Regions from separate parts of the Homo sapiens genome. Here region 1 is linked to region 2. The links are contacts of gene promoters, found by promoter capture Hi-C in blood cells and fetal thymus (Javierre and others, 2016). All regions are on one chromosome and are shown on one strand. The core of a region is centred on a gene start or on the middle of the fragment in contact, and the rest is flanking DNA. Distances in the headings are between cores, read along the strand shown.

Region 1 (5,750 bases), core at 3,251-5,750, 650 kb before region 2:
ATTTCTATTGCTTTCCAGATTTAAGGTAGAATGAAACATAACTAGCCAGTTATTGAAACTTGATTTTATTATGGGTTTCCAGAATTTCCTTTGCCATATTTTCCCATTGTAATTTATGATCTCCAGCATTGTTTGCACATTGTTTTCATTACTGCACTTTGTTATAATTCATCATTTATACCATCCATATTCTTTCTTTTCTTACGGATTGTGATATCTTTAGTCTAAATTTTTAACTGGAATCAGAACTGGATGTTGGGGTCACTGTTTTATTGTACCTTGTGATTACGTAATCCAAAATTGCCCCCCAAAAAGTCAGGTTAGCTAATATAATTTTTTAATGTTAACGATGTATAGTGGTAAAAAATTTATTCTAGCAGCCACGTGAAACAATGTATTTAAAAATTGTAAACTATTGGAATACTGTATTTATCTGCTATTGCAATATAAATTTATCTGCTATTGCAATATAAAGTCCTTTGACTTAGTCCTGGTAACTGTACAGTAATTTGGTTTACTGACAAAAGTTGTGAGGCCAGCCTTGGTGGCTCACACTTGTAATCCCAGCACTTTGGGAGGCCGAGGCGGGCGGATCACCTGAGGTCAGGAGTTTGCGACCAGCCTGGCCAACATGGTGAAACCTCGTCTCTACAAAAAGTACAAAAATTAGCCGGGTGTGGTGGCAGGCACCTGTAATCCCAGCTACTCGGGAGGCTGAGGCAGGAGAATCGCTTGAATCTGGGAGGCAGAGGTTGCAGTGAGCCAAGATCGCGCCTTTGCACTACAGCCTGGGGACAAAAGCGAGACTTCGTCTCAAAAAAAAAAAAAATTGTGAATAAAACTGTGTGAAACTGGGAGACTTTCTGGACTTTAATAGAAAAATATGATTTTAAAATTGCTTTTTCTTTTGTTTTAGCATAATTTTTCCCTTTATATTCCCCTCATCCGTGTAAATAAACACACACATACACACACACACGCACCTTTCACCACAATGGTAATGCTTCTGTAAATGTCTCTATTTGTCCAGTTGCCTGAAAATGTTGTAATCTTTATTAGACAAATATATATACATACATATTTTAAATATTGGCTTTTTCCAGTGAGCTATTATGCTTAGTGTACAGTGAAAAGTTTTATTATTATAGGTTAAAAATTTCTTAATCGTTCTTTTCTATTCGCTTGCCAAGGGTGAATGAAAGAACATGGCTGCTTCTTCCAGATTTATTTACTTTGGCATCCGCATAAAGCATCATTTTCAAAAATGAAAGGTGCTCAATTGTTCCCTTTTTCTATACTCTGTAGGTCTCACAACAACAAACTGCAGTCTACAGCTTCCTAAAGTTCAGCATGTTAACCTAACATAAAACACAGCAAGAATCTTGTTGCCTGAACTATTTTAAATTAAGGAGCCAGATCTTTTTAGTGAGGCTATCCTGACAAGACTTGACCTAAACTTTGTTTTTATTGGTCATAACAGTCCAATTATATTATTGGCCAATTTTGTCCAATGGACAAGAAAAAAGCAAAGTTGCCAGGTGCGGTGGCTCACGCCTGTAATCCCAGCACTTTGGGAGGCCAAGGCGGGCGGATCATCTGAGGTCGGGAGTTCGAGACCAGCCTGACCAATATGGAGAAACCCCGTCTCTACCAAAAATACAAAATTAGCTGTGCATGGTGGCCTATGCCTGTAATCCCAGCTACTTGGGAGGCTGAGGCAGGAGAATCGCTGGAACCCGGGAGGCAGAGGTTGTATTGAGCCGAGATTGAGCCATTGCACTCCAGCCTGGGTGACAAGAACAAAACTCCGTTTCAAAAACAAAAAAAGGAAGAAAAGAAAAAGAAAAAAGAAAAGTCAACGACACCATTATCTTGTCAAGATCAAATGGTTTTATTATTGTGGCAGAAGCGAGAAAATTTTGTTTATTAAAAAAAAAAAAGAAAAAGAAAGCAAGAAACAATGATACTGTGGGGTCAAGTATAACTCCATGGAAATGCCACGTCTGCTCTTCAGTGAAGAAGCTGGTTTAGAGTCTCAAAGAAAACTTTTGACTGTATTTATTTATTGTTGCAAAAAAGATGCTTTTTTATTGCTGCCCTCATTTGTCAACTAATTATTTTTTCTTATAAAATCCAGCCACGGTTACATATAATCCATCCATATCTTATCAATGATTCCTGTACGTAAAAGTACAAGACAACCTCTAGATGTCTTTTCTTTCTATGAAAGGAGCTGCTATGTACACATGTGCACACACACACAACTGCGAATCAACAATGAGTTTATTGTTCATGGTAGATTAAAATCAAGCTTGCATAAAGGTTGGGCTAAGTGGTCCTGGACTACAGACTCTGGTGACTTGAATATAACAGTACAATTTGTCAATTACTCCACACCAGGTTGAAATGAGTAAAATCTATTTGAAGGTATCTTCTTTGTAAACATTTGTCAGATTCTAATTTTTCTTTTTGTATTAAAATTCAACTATGGATGTATGTGAAACAAAATAAATGGAGATAGTTTTTCTCCCACAGACAGAGGTGTCTTTGAATGTGTGCTAATGATTATCTGTAAGCCTCTGTGGGGAGGGAGGGCTGCAAGGTCATGAAAGGCAAAAGAATCTAATTGTACCTGGAATTCTCCTGGACAGCAGTGGCCCCTCGTTTTATCATTCCCAGTCAATTGTCATCACGTCAGAGAAGAATCTTCAGGGGTGCTAATCCTGTCGCATCAGTTGATCATACTAACGAAAAAGGTAATGCGACAAGATACACATTGCCTTCATCTGTACATTCTGTGATACTGGGCAAATTACCAATTACAGACAGCTACTTATATTGTATGAAGGACATTTTTTGTTAGATGATCTCATCCTCTGTGTTATTTGTTGATTGGGTTTGTTTTTTGCTTGTTGGTTTGTTTGTTTCTTCCATGTAAGGAAAAGTAGTGTAAGCAGTAGGAAGAAAATGAGGAAGATGTATTTTGCATGTTCTTCCTTTCAATGTTCTTACACATTGTATTACTGCATTGTGGTAATAGCTTCTATAAAATCTGCCATAGCTGGATTATGCAGCTTTGCAAAAATTCTACTAGATTTTATTCTAACTCATATTAGCTTTGTCCTATCAACTTCTGGAATTTATCTAATTATTGCTTTTAAAAGTTTCCTTCCTTTCAACGTTTCCCTGCTATGCAAAACCTTTCCCAGACCTTGGTTTCTTAAAAGAAAGATGTTGCTACAGTTCCCAATTCTTTCTTATTACAGGCTCAGGTGTACAGGTTATTCTGGCTTAATTTTATCTAATGAAGCCCATTCCTTTTTGTACATGAAGATGTCACTTAAACCTATGTTTACAAACTAAAGAGACTAATCACTCAATATGAAAACATGAAAACATTTTTGCTTAAAATATTAAGATGGAAATACTTAAATATGGATTATTTTGTCCTTTTACTTTTTAAAAAAAGTTACATATTGTATGCACTGTGCTGATGCAAGAATTCTACATTTTAATGAATTATAAAATTATTCTGCATCTCATCACGTCACAGTATTTCTGCACTATTTATTCATATATATAGAAATATATATGGGCTTAATCATTTAAAATTTGTTGCAGCAAGAACTTTCCTACCTGTAGGCAATAGATTGCTATGTTTTCAACAAATTGTGGCAAATTCTAAACAGCAATTCTTTTGTATGTAATAGGACATTTCATACTAGAAAAATAAAGTAATGTTTTTGACATTGGATTTGGTGCAGTTTCTAATGAAGCAACGGTTGGTTGGTGGTAATATGTCTTCTGTAGCTGTTAGCATTGCCAAATTAAAAAGGGTAAATTTTATGGAAATCCTGAGACCAGGAAGATATTAATTTCATGTGTATTTAATGGTATAAAGTGTTTTACAGTTTCTATCACCATACAAATACATAAAGACATTTTATAGTTTTATCAACTATAGGGCTTTAGTCTTTCAAAAGTAATTTTTGAAAAACACACATTCCTGGCCAGGTGTGGTGGCCCACGCCTGTAACCCCAGCACTTTGGGAGGCCGAGGCAGGGGGGATCACCTGAGGTCAGGAATTTGAGACCAACCTGGCCAACATGGTGAAACCCCATCTCTACTAAAAGTACAAAAATTAGCCAGGCATGGTGGCAGGCACCTGAAATCCCAGCTACTAGGGAGGCTGAGGCAGGAGAATCACTTGAACCTGGGAGGCGGAGGTTGCAGTGAGCCGTGATCACGCCATTGCACTCCAGCCTGGGGGACAAGAGTGAGACTTCATCTCAAAAAAAATAAAAAAGAAAGAAAAACATACATTTTTTAGAACATAATGAGTTCTGAAAGCTGCTTTTCTGTGAGTAATCTTTGAAAGCTTCTGCTATTAAGATCTATATAACACAGCTATTTTGCTTTCAATAATCCAGGCAGTAAACTGTACATTTGTGATACTCTTAGGATGTTTCTACCACAGGCCTTGGGCTTGTAAATATATTTAATTTGCATCAGTAGATTTCCTTGGCTAAAAGTATTTTCAATAACTGTTATGCTTCACCTGCCAAGTTCACAATCCTTGAAACCATTTCATGAAAAGTATTTTCCTATTGGTAAAGCTTTTATTCTCCTATCCAAATTCTACAGGAGGTTTAAATAAAATTGTGGCTGGGCATGGTGGCTCACGCCTATAATCCCAGCACTCTGGGAGGCTGAAGCGGGCAGATCACAAGGTCAGGAGTTAGAGACCTGCCTGACCAACATGGTGAAACCCTGTTTCTACTAAAAATACAACAATTTAGCTGGACAAGTGGCACACACCTGTAGTCCCAGCTACTCAGGAGGCTGAGGTGGGAGGATGGCTTGAACTGGGGAGGCAGAGGTTGTAGTGAGCTGAGATTGTGCCACTGCACTCCAGCCTGAGCGACACAGCAAGACTCTGTCTCAAAAAAAAAGTGAACTTTTGGAGATATTTTCTGAAGTAAAATAATTACCTTTTTATATTCCAAATGGCCTAGAGTGTTATTTAGAGACACTAAGATTTGCTGTTGTTTGTAATCTACCTTCCTGGGATCTGCAAATAAAAGTTATTTCCCTATTTCTGCTAATTCCTTTAGGCAAACTCTCTACTTCTTTATGTTAAAGAGCCAACCTGGTGGACTTTCAGATCTCTGCACACTTAGTTAGACAAAGTTACATGGTTATTACAGCTTTCACTCTTCCTGATTGAAACTATCATGATACGGCTGGGCGTGGTGGCTCACACGTATAATCCCAGCACTTTGGGAGGCCAAGGCAGGTGGATCACCTGAGGTTGGGAGTTTGAAACCAGCCTGACAAACATGGAGAAACCCCATCTCTACTAAAAATACAAAAAAAAAAAAAAAAAAAAATTAGCTAGGTAAAGTGGCGCATGCCTGTAATCCCAGCTACTTGGGAGGCTAGAGCAGGAGAATCACTTGAACCCAGGAGGGAGAGGTTGCGGTGAGCTGACATCATGCCATTACACTCCAGCCTAGGCAACAAGAGCGAAACTCCTTCTCAAAAAAAAAAAAAAAAAAGAAACTATTACCATAGGTCTCAGATTTCTTGCCCTTAATGTGAGAATGGGGATATTCCATGGATAAAATAATGAAGTACTTGAGGAGGTGGAGGGAAGAGCCAACCGAGAAGTATTTTTAATAATTTGAAACATTCTAAGGTATTTCTAGATACTTGGAGTGAGATACTAAAAGACTTTTCTTAGAAGATT
Region 2 (6,264 bases), core at 2,621-5,120:
AAATAATAATTTCCATGAGAACTTCTAATTAACGAGAGTGCCTTAAATTGAGGAGTTTTGGTTTGGAGTTATTCTTCCTTGTTACTTGCCTCCTCTGGCATTTTCATTTGTGAAGACTGAGTGAGTGTGACGCTATTTTCTATACGCATGGAAACAAGCACATACTCAGTCTAACATTTACGCAATGCCTGACAGAACGACAGAGTTCATTCTACAATAAGATAATTGGAAACAAAATATAAGATCTATATAAAATAAACATTTGGGCTCCAAAATATGCACTTTAATTAACCTATCATTTCTTTTTACTTAAATTAAGTAGCTCCAATCTGAAACTACATCTTAGAAATGTTTTAAGGATATTCACCAATGAAAAAGAGAATAAAGTTCCCTCTCCCCACTTCTATTTTCCAGCCCACAAACTCAATGCTATCCTCCCCGCAAAAAGGACCTTTTTTTCTGACCAGACGAACACTGTAATTTTTAAGGTTTCTAAGTAATAAAAATAGGAAGAAAACATTACCCCCAAAAATTGGTTTACACTTAGAAGATGTTTCCCACTGAGCAAAGGATTGGTAAGGAACATAATATTAAGGCAACCACCTAACTGCATTCTTAAGTAGTAACAGGTGGTAACTCACGATATGGAGCTGATTTCCTTTCTCTATTCCTGCCATGCCAGAGACCTCTAGTAGAACTTCTGAGGTTACTGTATTACAACCCAGGTTCAGAGAGATTTAGAGGTAAAACCTTAAACACTGGAAATAGCTTTAAAAGTAGGGCTTTGTGTACCAAATACATTCGTTAAAACCTAGGAAACTATAAAATGAAATCCAATGTATTGATCTCAATCCCCTTGCCTGCTTCCTAAAGAGGACAGAGGCCACCAACACTGGTGCTCAACACTTGCTAAGTCGAAACACTCTTACACAGGTCCTCTGATTCTTAACGGGTTCAGAACTTCTGGTTGCATTCCCCATGCAACCCCTCCAACTCTACAGGGAGAATGCTGGAAAAACTGTGTCACTTTGGCTTCCTGTATATTAATATAAGCACTCTTATCCAGCAATAGCAGCTGAAACATAAATGAAGATGAGAACTCAGCCTACATGACCTAAGATTTCCCACAAGTCCAGATATATAGGTTACACACACTGCACTATTGTCTGATTTCTCCTCTGCATCAATCTGGAAGTCCACAGAGCAGATTAGCACCCAACAATCTTAACTAAGCTAGTATCCAACTCTGAAGAAAGGCGAAGCTGGTGGAGGGTTTCCAAGACTCCTTATCCTTCTCTGTCCTTCCTCCCATCCCCTCCTTACGTCTTTTCTGTTTGTTTTTATTTAATTTTATTTTTTAATGTATTTTTAGTCACAAGAAAATCAAAGAAGCCACCTACTTAAGTCTTAAGCTCTGCCCTTTGCTTAGTCCTAATGGAGAGTTCTTTGGCCATCTATGTACAAGAGATTAGAGGAGCCAAAGAGACTGGAGAACCACATCAATGGGAGCTTTTTCATCTAAAGGTCATCTGTCCACACTGTCCAAATGAGGTTTACCCTGTGAAATAAAACTTGGTGTAAGTGCTACCTGCTGAGAAAAATAGTATGAAATGTCACACAAAGGACTGGGGTGCAGCAGGAGGACTCTGAAAGAGTCATACGTGTAAACCAGCAGGTCTTAGAATGCCCTAATATACTATATGAAGTTTCAGAGTAAACAAATGGTTAATGACACATCTTTTGTAACACGTGAATCAGCTACTGATTTGCAAGAGTGGGACACACCCTAGTACCTATGACTCTAAAGTACCTGTTTGAAAAGTGGACCTAGATGTTTGAATTGCCAACCCATCCTAAGACCGGAACATAATTTTACAACTATGTAAGTTGCCATAATTTAAAGTTAAAAAGATCACTGCCTTTCATTATAATGGAAGTTAATTTGAGAACTTCATTAAAACATTCACACCGATAATCAAAGAACAGTAGAGATACAAAGTAAGATATAGCCAATCAATCCTAGGAAGCAAACACAAGAGGCAAGAGAAATGGCAGGTAAAGGAAGTGAAGAATAGCAAATTCAAAAACTACAATATTCCCAATTCTAAAGAAAAATGAATAAAATGAGGCTGGTAATGAAAAAATAACACATCTTACCTTAAGAGGCATCCAAGTAGCATTCATAGTGTCAGGATATAAAGACAATACTCAGAAATGAGCAAGAAGTCTTAGAAATTCCCTCGGTTACCAAGTATAAGCAGGTAGGAAAATCTTTTGTTTCGAGAAGGTATCTGAAAGAGAGGATTTTCATTTAGACTAAAAAATAATCAAGACAATGCAAATAGTTTAAGCTACCTGGGCAGGGATTTTGAAGTACTATTTGCCTCATCGCACTAAAAAAGTATAGAAAATACAGTCCCCTTTAGAAAAGGGCAAATGTGTGTCTCCATATATATGTGTGTAGAAACATACTTTACATAAAAAGAGAAATAAATATGTAACACGTATTTTAGATAATGTAAAATTGCTTATCAAACAATTAGCCAAAATCCCAGAGAGAATAAAGTAATTTTCCAGGGTACTTCATAAACACTAAACGTGATTTGTTAATTAACCGTCTAAAAAAGACCCTTGCCACATTTAATTATATTTAGTAAAGTAAAACTTCTCTAATCATCCCGACTGTCCCAAGATTATGCTTAAGTTTCAGAGTCAATTCCACATGAAAAGTAAAACCTATTCTTGACTGAAGTACTAGAAACAAATAAAGGACCCTTCTTCCCCAGAGATCGTTAAAAGCAGACCGAGCAACTTAATTTTGAGGGTGGGAGGAAGGTAAATTTGCCTGGAGGCAGGAGGATGGACTAAATGACCTCTGGTAGGATCCTCGTTCAAGTCCTGGGCCTGTATACAATTCCAGCTTAACCAGTTACTGCTTCGCTTAAAATGGAGGCTTGCCCGCGTAGGGACAAAAATAACAGCACCCACTTCTTAAAAATAAATGTCGAAAAGTACCCCTTTTTAAATAAAAATAAAAAATAAACACCTCTGGAGTGGATGTGTTCTTGCTATGCGTTTGTCACTGAGGCTTCGAAGACTTGGCATCACTTTCCTTACCGCTCACCGGATTTTGGGGGAGGAGCGGGGGGCGACAGTTTGACTCTTGACCCAAGTCTCAGGCGGACTTCAGAGCCCCACAGGGGCCCCCAACTCCAGAGCCAGAGGGAGCGGAGAGGCGAGAGCCCGAGATCGCACCTCCCCCCACCGCGGACCCCAGTCCCAAACCCACCCCTCACCTCCCCGCAGTGGGGCGCCTCCTTCTGCCCCATTCCCATTGTTAGGGAGGGCAGAGCGCGGGGTGGGCTCAGGGCAGGGGCGCCCGCGGCCGCTGCCCGGCTCGCTTCAGGAGGGGCGCCCCGCGGGATGCGGCTTCCCTTCCTCTCCGCGTCGGTCCGTCCCACCTCGGCTCGGCCTGGCGCCCCGAGCTCCGCTCCGCGCCCCCGGCCGCGGCCCCGGCCCGCCCCCCGGGCAGCCAGGCCCTCAGGCCACTCGGCCGGCAGCCCGCGTCCCAGGCCTACGAGTGGGCGCTGGGCGGGCGTCCCCGTGCCCCACACACGCGTCCCCTCTCCCCCAGCCCCGCCGCTTCCAGGGCCCTCGGCGGCGCCCGCTCCCCGGGCCCCGCGGCCCCCCGCCTCCCAGCCAGGCCGCTCCCTCGAGCTCGTCGGGTCAGGGACACCTCCTCTACCTCACCATCACCCTGGCCCACTCGTGCCCCCACCCCCAGGGGCACCAGTGCCAAAGGCAGCTCCCCCAGCCCCGGACCTACCTGCACGGTTCAACCAAGCCTAGAAGTGGGGGCGGGGAATCTTCCGCCCTCCTCTGGCGCTCATTGGCCCTTCAGGGGCACATCGTGAGCGCCATTGGCTGAGCAATGGTGTCCGTCAGAGCGATGGGGCGGGACAGAAGGGGAAGAGGGATGCAGGTGCCTTGGCGTCTCTGTCTCTGTGCATCTCGTTGTCTCTGTCTCTGTCTCAGCCCTTGGAAACGAGAGGCTTTTGGCTGAGAGGACTAGAAGGGGGCCTGAGGTGGGAGGAATAGGAATAGGAATCCTGACAGAGCGTCACGCCAGTTGGCAACTCTGAACCCCCTACCTAAGTCCCCTTTAGGTTCTCTTCTCCATCACCCCCAACCCCTGCCCCTCACCCCTCGAGATTCTTTCATCCAGGAAGCGACGTGATGAAAACTCCAGGCCGGAAGGCCATAGGGAGAGATGTTATATATGTATATAAAATATACACATATAAATGTTTATATATAAACTCAACCAGATATCAGTTCACTAGGGCCTGGAAAGGAAAGGGCACACATCTCACAGACAGGGAAGGACTTGAGATAGAGCCGGTAGAAGAAGGAATCAAAAATCACTCTAAGAGCTGGCAACAGTGGTTACCTCCTGGGAGAGGAACTGAGTGCCTAGGGAACCAGTGGGCGGAAGACTTACATATCTCGGCATATCATTTGTATCCATTGATTTTTGCACCACTCATCAAGATTCCAATTTAAAGAAAAGGATTTAAATGTTTAAATAAGGTCGCAAAACCAGGGGACAGACAAGATAATTGGGCAGGAAAATTGGCGCAACATGCAGATTTGGGGAGGAATCTTAGCTTTTAATATGTTCAGTTCCCGGTAACAGGGTTTTGTAAAACCCAGTGAAGGTGTCCCAGAGGCAACTGAAGTTATGGAACTTGAGAAAGGGTAGACAATCAGGACTAGAGAAGATGCAGGGTCCTCTGCCTAAAGATAGTGATCTATGACATGCTAAAGGATAAACTCCCAAAGAAGGGTAATAAGACACCCACAGTAAAAGGTAGGAGGACGAAAAAGAATGTCAGTGAGGTAAAAGAAACAATATTAAAGAGGCATGAAAATTAAGGGAGGAAGGGTCTGTGGAAAATAGAATAATAAAACTATGAGAGAGGCCGGGCACGGTGGCTCACACCTGTAATCCCAGCACTTTGGGAGGCCAAGGTGGGTGGATCACCTGAGGTCAGGAGTTCGAGACCAGCCTGCGCAGCATGGTGAAACCCGATCTCTAATAGAAATGCAAAAAAAAAATTAGCCAAGCGTGGTGGCGCGCCTCTGTAATCCCAGCTACTGGAAAGGCTGAGGTGGGAGAATTGCTTGAACCGGGAGGCGGAGGCTGCAGTGAGCCAAGATCGCGCCACTGCACTCCAGCCTGGGCGACAGAGCGAGACCCTGTTTCAAAAAAAAAAAAAAAAAAAAAAAACTGTGAGAGCCTCATAGGTCTTACCTCTTTACCTCTTTAGGCTCTGGTAACCATGGGACAATAAGAATGAAAGCCAAGGCCGGGCACGGTGGCTCACGCCTGTAATCCCAGCATTTTGGGAGGCCAAGGTGGGCGGATCACAAGGTCAGGAGATCAAGACCATCCTGGCCAACATGGTGAAACCACGGGCATGGTGGCGCATGCCTGTAATCCCAGCTACTCGGGAGGCTGAGGCAGGAGAATTGCTTGAACCAGGGAGTCAGAGGTTCCAGTGAGCCGATATCACGCCACTGCACTCCAGCCTGGATGACAGAGTGAGACTCCGACTCAAAAAAAAAAAAAAAAAACCAAAAAAAAAAAAAAAAAAAACCACCTTTATCGATTAAGAATCTTTTTTCTGAGTTTATTAATTCTATTTAAATCAACCCCAGAAAACACCTTCAACACAGCCTCTCATTTCATATCTGTAAAATGGGGCAAAAAAAATAGTTCCTACCCTTTAGAGTTGTTGTGAAGATTAAATTAGTGAATACATATGATGGATTTTTTTTCTTTTCTCTTTTTTTTGAGACACAGTCTCGCTCTGTCTCCCAGGCTGGAGTGCAGTGGCACTATCTCAGCTCACTGCAAGCTCCGCCTTCCGGGTTCACGCCATTCTCCTGTCTCAGCCTCCTGAGTAGCTGGGACTACAGGCGTCCGCCAGCATGCCCGACTAATTTTTTGTTATTTTTAGTAGATACGGGGTTTCACCGTGTTAGCCAGGATGGTCTCAATCTCCTGACCTCGTGATCCGCCCGACTTGGCCTCCCAAGTGCTGGGATTACAGGCATGAGCCATGGCGCCCGGCCTGTGTGATGGATTTTTTAAGAGCCTGACTGGCGGGGTGAGGCGGCTCATGACTGTAATCGCAGCACTTTGAGAGGCTGAGGCAGGTGAATCACTTGAAGCCAGGAGTTCGAGACCAGCCTGGGCAA

Evidence for each region. The method cuts DNA at HindIII sites, captures the fragments that hold promoters and counts their contacts. A CHiCAGO score of 5 or more calls a contact.
Region 1: a fragment that was not itself captured here is called in contact with the fragment with the promoter of LINC02210 in region 2 in 3 of 17 cell types (M1 macrophages, erythroblasts and monocytes); the score reaches 7.3 in M1 macrophages.

Annotation. Positions count from the first base shown.
Region 1 is chr17:46,270,974-46,276,723 of GRCh38, reverse strand. LOC124904014 (a long non-coding RNA gene) reads right to left here and starts at 2,708. Exons shown (of 3, transcript XR_007065823.1): 1 at 2,633-2,708. It also overlaps a transcript of LRRC37A not described here and a transcript of ARL17B not described here. The HindIII fragment of the contact is 238 bases long and covers 4,382-4,619 here.
Region 2 is chr17:45,617,935-45,624,198 of GRCh38, reverse strand. It overlaps LINC02210 (long intergenic non-protein coding RNA 2210), which reads right to left and starts at 3,870. Exons shown (of 6, transcript NR_138260.1): 1 at 3,827-3,870; 2 at 2,158-2,291. LINC02210-CRHR1 (LINC02210-CRHR1 readthrough) reads right to left here and starts at 3,853. Exons shown (of 15, transcript NM_001256299.3): 1 at 3,827-3,853; 2 at 2,158-2,291. RefSeq lists an enhancer at 4,737-5,716. The HindIII fragment of the contact is 33,843 bases long and covers 1-6,264 here.